2 separate regions of the Homo sapiens genome follow, and region 1 is linked to region 2. Evidence: promoter capture Hi-C in human tissues and cell types (Jung and others, 2019). All regions are on one chromosome and are shown on one strand. Each heading gives the region's core, a stretch centred on a gene start or on the middle of the fragment in contact. The rest is flanking DNA. Distances are from core to core; before and after follow the strand shown.

Region 1 (4,283 bases), core at 67-2,566, 62 kb after region 2:
GATGGGGGTATGACAGGAGCTTTAGGTGCAGAGAAGGCAGACCTGAATCCAGAATAGGATCTGTATCTATTTCCATGAGGGCAAATCAGTATCTTTTTCATGATGGAATCAACCTGTCATCAGCTGGCTGGGCTGGTCCCCCAGGGAATGGTGCCATATTTGGGACTTGGCACTGGCCCTTGCTGTTGTGTGGTTGGCATCCAGCAGTGGTAGCAGCCGGATGAGTCTCATCTCAGGAAAGTGCATGGTGTTGAGTTTGTGTGTAAGCCTTCATCCCTGCTACCTGTCCACTCTGTGCGTTTTCCAACCCTGGAGGGACTGGAGAAGGAGGCTGGGTCACGTCCACAGGCAGGGCCTCTTGCCCGTCTGGTGACTGAAAGCCTTCTCCACTGTGGCTGCCTTATGGGCATTTCTTGGTACCTCTCCATCAGATCTCCTTATTATCAGTCTTGCCATTTCCACATCCCTGACCAGCTGACCAAGCTATTAGCCTCTGCCTATTGATTGGGGTGAACCCAACCTCATGGCCATGTCTCCTTCCACCCAAAGCGGTACCACCAGATGGACGGCCTCACCTCTGCTAACTGGGAAGAGCTCCCTTCCCCACTCACTGTGTGTGAGCCTCTCCTCTGGGTGGGGCTGTGATGCAGCAGATGTTCGCCCCTGGTTGTTGCCAGCATCCCATGCAGGCCCATCTACAAACCAAGGCTGTGTTTTTCATGGTAGTGGCTGCCGCCTGAGGTCATAGGTGTGGCTCACCCTCATAGGGAGAGATGGAGGAGCAGCAGGAGCAGTGACCATGGATGCTGAGCTGCCTGTGCTGCAGTGACTGGTTTACCCCTCACACCCCTTTCTCCTTTGTAGTGACTGTTCCCAGGCATTGCCTGGATTGCCACTGCATGGCTTTTCCATGGCTCCCTCCTCACCTCCCATTACTTCCCCAGAGAGGCCCTTCCCAGCCAGCCCTCCTGAGAGCACTCCATACATGCACCTCCCTTAGCACTGCTTACTGTGTTTCCCTGTGTGTCTCTTTAGGTCTTATTGCTAAATTGAAGGTGCCTTGTCTGTTTTCTTGTTTCCTGTCTGTCTCTCCAGTTAGAATGTAAGCTCCAAAGAGCAAGGAGCTTGTCTTCTTGTTACTGCTGTATCTTACACAGAGGAGGGCCTGGCATGTAGGAAGGGCTCACAGGTTCATGGAAGAATGAAAGTTCTAAATTCACACAAAAGTAAATATATTGACAATAGCAAGGAGGCAAGTAGATGATTTGAGATTTTGGTCTGTACAAATCCTTTCTAATAGTTTGGACTCATGAACATTTAAATTTTGCTTGTAGTTATTTTAAATGTTTTTTACTTTGAAGTTCTTGATTACAATAACTAAATTTCAAGGAAAACTTCTGCAGATAGTAAGTTTTGATAGGAGAAAGTATTGGGAGTCAAAAGGCTTAAGTCCCCTGAATGACCATGGGGCCTTGGATGTTTTCTCATCTTTTTGGGCTTCGTGTTTTCTTATGTAAAATAAGGAACATTACATTGGATGACCTGTAAGAGCCTTTCAGGATTAAAAGCCTGTAATATTAGGATTTTAGAGAAGCAATAGCTGTTATTAGCCTTCATTAATATTTGTGCACATCACATTTTTAACAGGAACAAGGCTTGGTCGGGGGCCCAGTTTGTGTTGGAGCGAAGCAGTGTGTTGGTGTTTTTGCCAGGTAAGAACATCATAATTTTGTGACTTGGAATCATAATACTCTGGAGAGAGGCTAAGTTTGTGCCTAACACAGATTATGAAAGATGGTATTCTCCATAGGACTTTATTCTTTTTACACTTTGAGTATGTGAACAAATGTAACTTTCAGTTTGGCTTTTTATTGTAACCCTTGCATTTCTTTTTTTTTTCCTTTTCCTTTTCCTTTTTCTAGATGGAGTCTTGCTCTGTTGCTAGGCTGGAGTGCAGTGGCACGATCTTGGCTCACTGCAACCTCTGCCTCCCCGGTTCCAGTGATTCTCCTGCCTCAGCTTCCCGAGTAGCTGGGACTACAGGTGCACGCCACCACGCCCGGCTTATTTTTGTATTTTTAGTAGAGATGAGCTTTCACCATGTTGGCCAGGATGGTCTCGATCTCTTGACCTTGTGATCTGCCCGCTGTGGCCTCCCAAAGTGCTGGAATTACAGATGTGAGCCACTGTGCCCGGCCAACCCTTGTATTTCTAAAAAAGATTTCTTATTAATAATTAAGAGTTCAATTTTTTTTTTTTTTTGGAGACAGAGTCTCACTCTGTTGCCCAGGCAGGGGTACAGTGGCAAAATCTTAGCTCACTGCAACCTCTGCCTCCTGGGTTCAAGTGATTCTCCTGCCTAAGCCTCCGAAGTAGCTGGGATTACAGACACGCGCCACCATGCTTGTCTAGAGTTCAGCTTTTTGAAGGCAGTTTTGCCACCTTCGAAATTTCCAGTAAAATATTTGGCTTTGTGAAATTTGCATTTTACATATGTCGTTATAAATGTGAGGTAACTGTCATCAGTTTGCATTGAAAGCTTATTTAGTAATAGTAAAACACACTGTTATTATAACACCGTGAGAATCATCAGGGTAATCCTTGAGTTCCCTTCTCAGTGTTTGAGAAAACAGACTTTTAAAATACCTTTCTGAAAAGATGAATTTATGTTAAATTGTACTTTTTCAAAATTACTTGATGTTTAATTCAAGTGGTATAGCTTGATGAAACATTATGACAATAATTCAAATATTTTCTGTTGTAATATATAGAGCATAAACAGATTTGTTCTTAAAATAATGGAGAATGAAAAACATGCAATGAAAGTAGCTTACTTAATTTTGGAATGCAACATATGAGTTTCAAACTTTTGTCATGTTTTGCTTAGCTGATAAGGATTTGTTTACATGCAGGGAACAACCATGAGCTGACAGTGGGGTGGTGTTGCATGTGCCTTGGTGAATATTTATCAGATGACTTCTGTGTGCATCATATTGTATTAAGGGGAAAACATCACCCAAGTAGAGCCATGTTGATACTGGCTTAAGAACACCTAACATGGGCCGGGCACAGTGCTCACGCCTGGAATCCCAGCACTTTGGGAGGCCGAGGCTTAAGAACACCTAACACGGACGGGCGTGGGGGCTCATGCCTGGAATCCCAGCACTTTGGGAGGCTGAGGTGGGTGGATCACGAGGTCAGGAGATCGAGACCATCCTGGCTAACATGGTGAAACCTCATCTTTACTGAAAATACAAAAAAAATTAGCCGGGCATGGTGGCGGGCACCTGTGGTCCCAGCTATTCGGAAGGCTGAGGCAGGAGAATGGCATGAACCTGGGAGGCGGAGCTTGCAGTGAGCCGAGATCACGCCACTGCACTCCAGCCTGGGAGAAAGAGCGAGACTCCATCTCAAAAAAAAAAAAAAAAAAAAAGAATACCTAACATGAGATAAATACTCTATTTTATTTATTTTTTAAGAAAGGGTCTTGCTGTGTTCCCCAGGCTGGAGTACAGTGGTGTGACCCCGATCACTGCAGCCTCTACCTTCTGGGCTGAAGTGATATTTCCACCTCAGCCTCCCAAGTAGCTGGGACTGCAGGCATGCACCCCCATGCCTGGCCAAATTTTTTTTTTTTTGGTATCTTTTTGTGGAGACGGTTTAACTAGCTTGCACAGGCTAGTCTCGAACTGCTAGGCTCAAGTGATCTCCATGAAGTGATCCACCTGCCTCAGCCTCCCAAAGTGTTGGGATTGCAGGTGTGAGCCACTGCTCCTGGCTGGTAAATACTTTTTACCTGCTAAACATTGCCTGAAGAAAATATTTATAAGTGATATTTTACATTTAGGGTTACTGTCCTTTTAATATGTTCATGTGAATTCAAGTTTGATAGATGTTTATGTGTCAATTGATCTTTTGTGAACAGTTCTATAGTAGTTTTCCAGGACTGCTGTAACAAAGTGCCACAAGCTAAATGCCTTAAAAGAACAGTCATTTATTCTCTCCCTGTTTTGGAGGCTAGATGTTCAAAATCGAGTTGTCAGCAGGGCCATGCTCTTTCTGAGCCTCTTCCTCTTTCCAGCTCCTGGTAGTGGCCGTCAGTCCCTAGTGCTCCTTGACCTGTGGCTACATCACTCCTGTCTCTGTTGTCACATGGCATTCTCTGTTTGTGCCTCTTCCCTTCTTGTATGGATACCAGTCATTTTGGATTAAGGGCTCACCCCATTCCAGTATAACTTCATCTTAACTAATTACATCTGCAATGACTCTATTTCCAAATAACA
Region 2 (3,914 bases), core at 1,095-3,594:
TCAGAATGTTAACTAGTGTTTGGTCAGGAAACACTATGGCAACTTTCCAAATTGGCAAATTTCCAAAGAAGCATCAAGAGAGTATCTTTGGATTGCAATTAAAAAAAAAATCAAAACTCAGAAGGATTAGCTAGTAGCCCAAAAGATCAAAGAATATAGAAAATGCCCCCCAGAAAATGTTTTTGAAAAGCATCTTCCACTTAAAATCGTATTCATTGTGACATCAACAAAGGATGACAGCACACGGTAACAGCAACATCCTAGAAAAACAGGCCAGGCGCGGTGGCTCACGCCTATGATCCCAGCATTTTGGGAGGCCGAGGCGGGCGGATCATGAGGTCAGGAGATTGAGACCTTCCTAGCCAACATGGTGAAACCCCGTCTCTACTAAAATACAAAAAATTAGCCAGCCATGGTGGTGCATGCTTGTAGTCCCAGCTACTCCGGAGGATGAGGCAGGAGAATTGCTTGAACCTGGGAGGCAGAGGTTGCAGTGAGCTATCGCGCCACTGCACTCCAGCCTGGTGACAGAGCAAGACTCCGTCTCAAAACAACAACAAAAAACAAAACAAAACAAGTGTGAGTTCTGGAGTTGCTTCAAGTGGTTTCAATATATTTTGTAAAATTTTGAATTATGTCCTAGCCTCCACATACAGTGTGAAGTTACAATATTTTCCAATCAATGCTGAATGACATACCATGAGTCTCAATTACTTTATGATTACCTTTTTTCTTATTTTTTGAAAAACATGACTGGGCATGGTGGTTCATGCTTGTAGTCTCAACACTTTGGGAGGCCAAGGGCTCCCAAACAGATTGCTTGAGCCCAGGAGCTTGAGACTGGCCTGGGCAACACAGCGAAACCCCTGTCTGTACTAAAAATATAAAAAATTAGCCGGTGTGGTGGTGGCGTGAGCCTGTAGTTCCAGCTATGCAGGAGGTTGTGGTGGGAGCATCACCTGAGCCCCCGAAGTTGAGGCTGCAGTGAGCCCTGATTGCAGCACGGCACTCCAGCCTCAGCGACAGGAGTGAGACCCTGCCTCAAAAGAAAAAAGAAAAGCAAGTTATTTCTTCCTGGCAAAGTGTGTTGAGGCACTTTTGGGAACCTGTCGTATTTGGCAGAGTCCTAATATGAGGTCTAGAGCTCATTATGCCAGGATTTGGAGCCAGAACTCCTGGCTTAGTATGATTATGGGTTCAATTTTTGAGACACCAATAGCTCAACCTACCTGCCTGATTTCTGTCTACAGTGTTTTCAAACCGCCCTCTTATTTGCCACTGCTTGGGCTTTACACTGCTGATTAGAGCCATGCTCTCGATACCGTCTCTGTATTTGTTCACATGGCTCTTTCCTGAGAGCCCACATGGGCCAGATAGATCCTGCCCTGGCCAGTGAGGGGGACACACCCCAGGCAGGTGGCCATGTCTCTCTTCTGACCCTCCCTTCCCTTGCACACGTGGCTGCCTTCCCGTGCATCCTTTGTTGATTTCTTCCCGCGGCTCCTTCTTTTGGGGAGTTTGCTAGGGCTCTGTTCTCCACCCTCACTCTTCTAGAGCTCGGCCGGGACCACCTCAGCCTGTATCTTTGGTCCATGTGATCGCCTGGACCTCCTGTCCGCACCTGTTTGTGTCCAGCTGTGAGTCTGACACCGCCGCCTGAGACACCGGTTTAGGAAGGAAGATGAATTCAGTTATGATCCGGCTGCAAAGAACTTCTCCCAGATCCTCACCTCAGCCATCAGGGCCGCCTGCCCTCCCCTATAACCCTGGGTGGTCCTCCGTCTGGCGCATTCCCCCGTATCCTGCAGGGGTCTGCCTGGCGTTACTTTCTCCGAGACCTTCCTGACCTTCTTCTTGCCCCTCTCCCCCCATATTAGGTGCAAGGATGTCCTGGTACGTCTGACCCACGAACGCAAATCCCTTCTCTGGTTTGCCTTCCATCTCCTCACCCTGAGGTGCTCAAGAAACGTATGTAGGGTCCCGGTCCGCTCAAAGCGCACAAACCTCCGAGGCAGCAGCCTCTAAATAGAGAGGCCAGGGAGTGACCGGAGGGCATTTTCTTGTACACACAGGGGTTGCCACGGAACTCCCGTGAAACAGACTCCCGGGCCAGCCGCGGCGCTCAAGCTTCCCCTGAGGTCCTAGAAAGGCTCACCCTGGGCTCGCTCGGGGCGGCGGCTCCCGGCAGGCCTAGCGCGGCGGGGCGGGGCCGGCGGCACGAGGACCAGGCAGCGCGGGCAGCACGCGCCCGGGCCGGAGCCCGCCCACAAGGGCGCGCGGCGCGTTCTGATTGGAAGGCCTCGAGCGGGGGCGGGGCTTCCAGGGTGCGCTTCCGCCGTCGCCTGTTCCCGCCGCGGAGACCCGGCAGTTGGGGGATGCCGACGCCTGGGCCTTGAGGATGCTGCGGAAGCTCACCATCGAGCAGATCAACGACTGGTTCACCATCGGCAAGACGGTGACCAATGTGGAGCTGCTGGGCGCGCCGCCCGCCTTCCCGGCAGGGGCGGCCAGGGAGGAGGTGCAGCGCCAGGACGTGGCCCCCGGCGCTGGTCCCGCGGCCCAGGCTCCGGCTCTGGCCCAAGCTCCGGCCCGGCCGGCCGCTGCGTTCGAAAGGTAGGACGCGGGCGGGGCGGAGGCGGCTGGAGGGCGGCCGGGCGAGGCCTGGCGACGAGGGCACGGGCCATCCAGATCCTTCTCGCGAGCCCGTGCCCTCTCGCGGGGCTCCAGGGACCCCTGACCGTCCAGGGCGAGTGGTCACTACACAACCCGACGCGCGGCCCAGAGCGGTGCCTGTAAGGAAGCTGAGCTAGAGGTTTTTTTTTTTTTTTTTTTTTCAGTTCTTAATGTTTAACAGACTAGTTTTTGAGGCACTCAGGTTTTCAGGATAACGGAGCGGAGGGCAGAGGTCCCATAGGCCCCTTCCCTCCCAGAGTTTCCCCTGTGAGCATCTGCGTAAGGTGTGGGTATTTGTGACAGTCGGCGAACCTGCATCGCTGCGTCTTCGTCACCCGGAGGCCATCGTTACAGGAGGGTTCACGCCTCGTACTGGACGTTCTGTGGGTTTGGACAAACGCCTAACGTCACGCATTACAGAGTTCACTGACCTACAGATCTTCTCGGCCCCACTGTTCCTGCCTCCCTTTCCCTACACCACGTGGAAACCACTGATTTTTTTACTGTCTCCATAATTTTGCTTTTCCATACTGTCATCTAGTTGGAATCACACAGTATGTGTAGCCTTTTTGATGGGTTTCTGTCACTTAGTATTAGTATGCATTTGGGGGTTCCTCCATGCCTTTCCATGGTTTGATAGCTTCTTTCCTTTTAGCACTGATTAATATTCCACTGTCTGGATGTACCACAGTTTATCTCCATTCACCTACTGAAGGAGAGCTTGGTTGCTTCCAAGTTCTCCCCCCACCCCCCGAGATGGAGTCTCACTTTGTTACCCAGGCTGGAGTGGAGTGGCGCCATCTCGCCTCACTGCAATCTCCCCCTCCTAGGTTCAAGCGATTCTCCTGCCTCAGCCTCCCGAGTAGCTGAGGCTACAGGCATATGCCACCACGCCTGGCTAATTTTTGTATTTTTAATAGAGACAGGGTTTCACCATGTTGGCCAGGCTAGTCTAGAACTCCTGACCTCAGGTGATCTGCCCACCTCAGCCTCCCAAAGTGCTGGGATTACAGGCGTGAGCCACTGCGCCCGGCCTGCTTCCAAGTTTTGGCAAGGTTTTTGTGTGGACATAAGTTTTCAACTCATTGGGTAAATACCAAGGAGTGCAAATGCTGAATCTTTGTTAAGTTTCACAGACTCCCTCCTCATCTCACTATTCTTTAAGTAGCTACCATCAGTTACTCTGTTCACTTGATTTGGGTGGAAATAAAAAGCAAGAGTATATCCTCTGTTTTTAGAGG

The links. Contacts are between HindIII fragments. The study calls those that stand out against the background at their distance.
Region 1: a fragment that was not itself captured here is called in contact with the fragment with the promoter of TDRD9 in region 2 in 5 of the 25 tissues and cell types used here (H1 embryonic stem cells, heart left ventricle, lymphoblastoid cells and 2 more).

The regions. Positions count from the first base shown.
Region 1 is chr14:103,989,513-103,993,795 of GRCh38, forward strand. It overlaps TDRD9 (tudor domain containing 9), which reads left to right. Exons shown (of 36, transcript NM_153046.3): 9 at 1,648-1,712. Among named protein-coding and RNA genes, the nearest start is that of RD3L, 49 kb to the left of the region's middle. The HindIII fragment of the contact is 6,052 bases long and covers 1-4,283 here.
Region 2 is chr14:103,926,112-103,930,025 of GRCh38, forward strand. TDRD9 (tudor domain containing 9) reads left to right here and starts at 2,345. Exons shown (of 36, transcript NM_153046.3): 1 at 2,345-2,613. The coding sequence starts at 2,399. The HindIII fragment of the contact is 10,851 bases long and covers 1-3,914 here.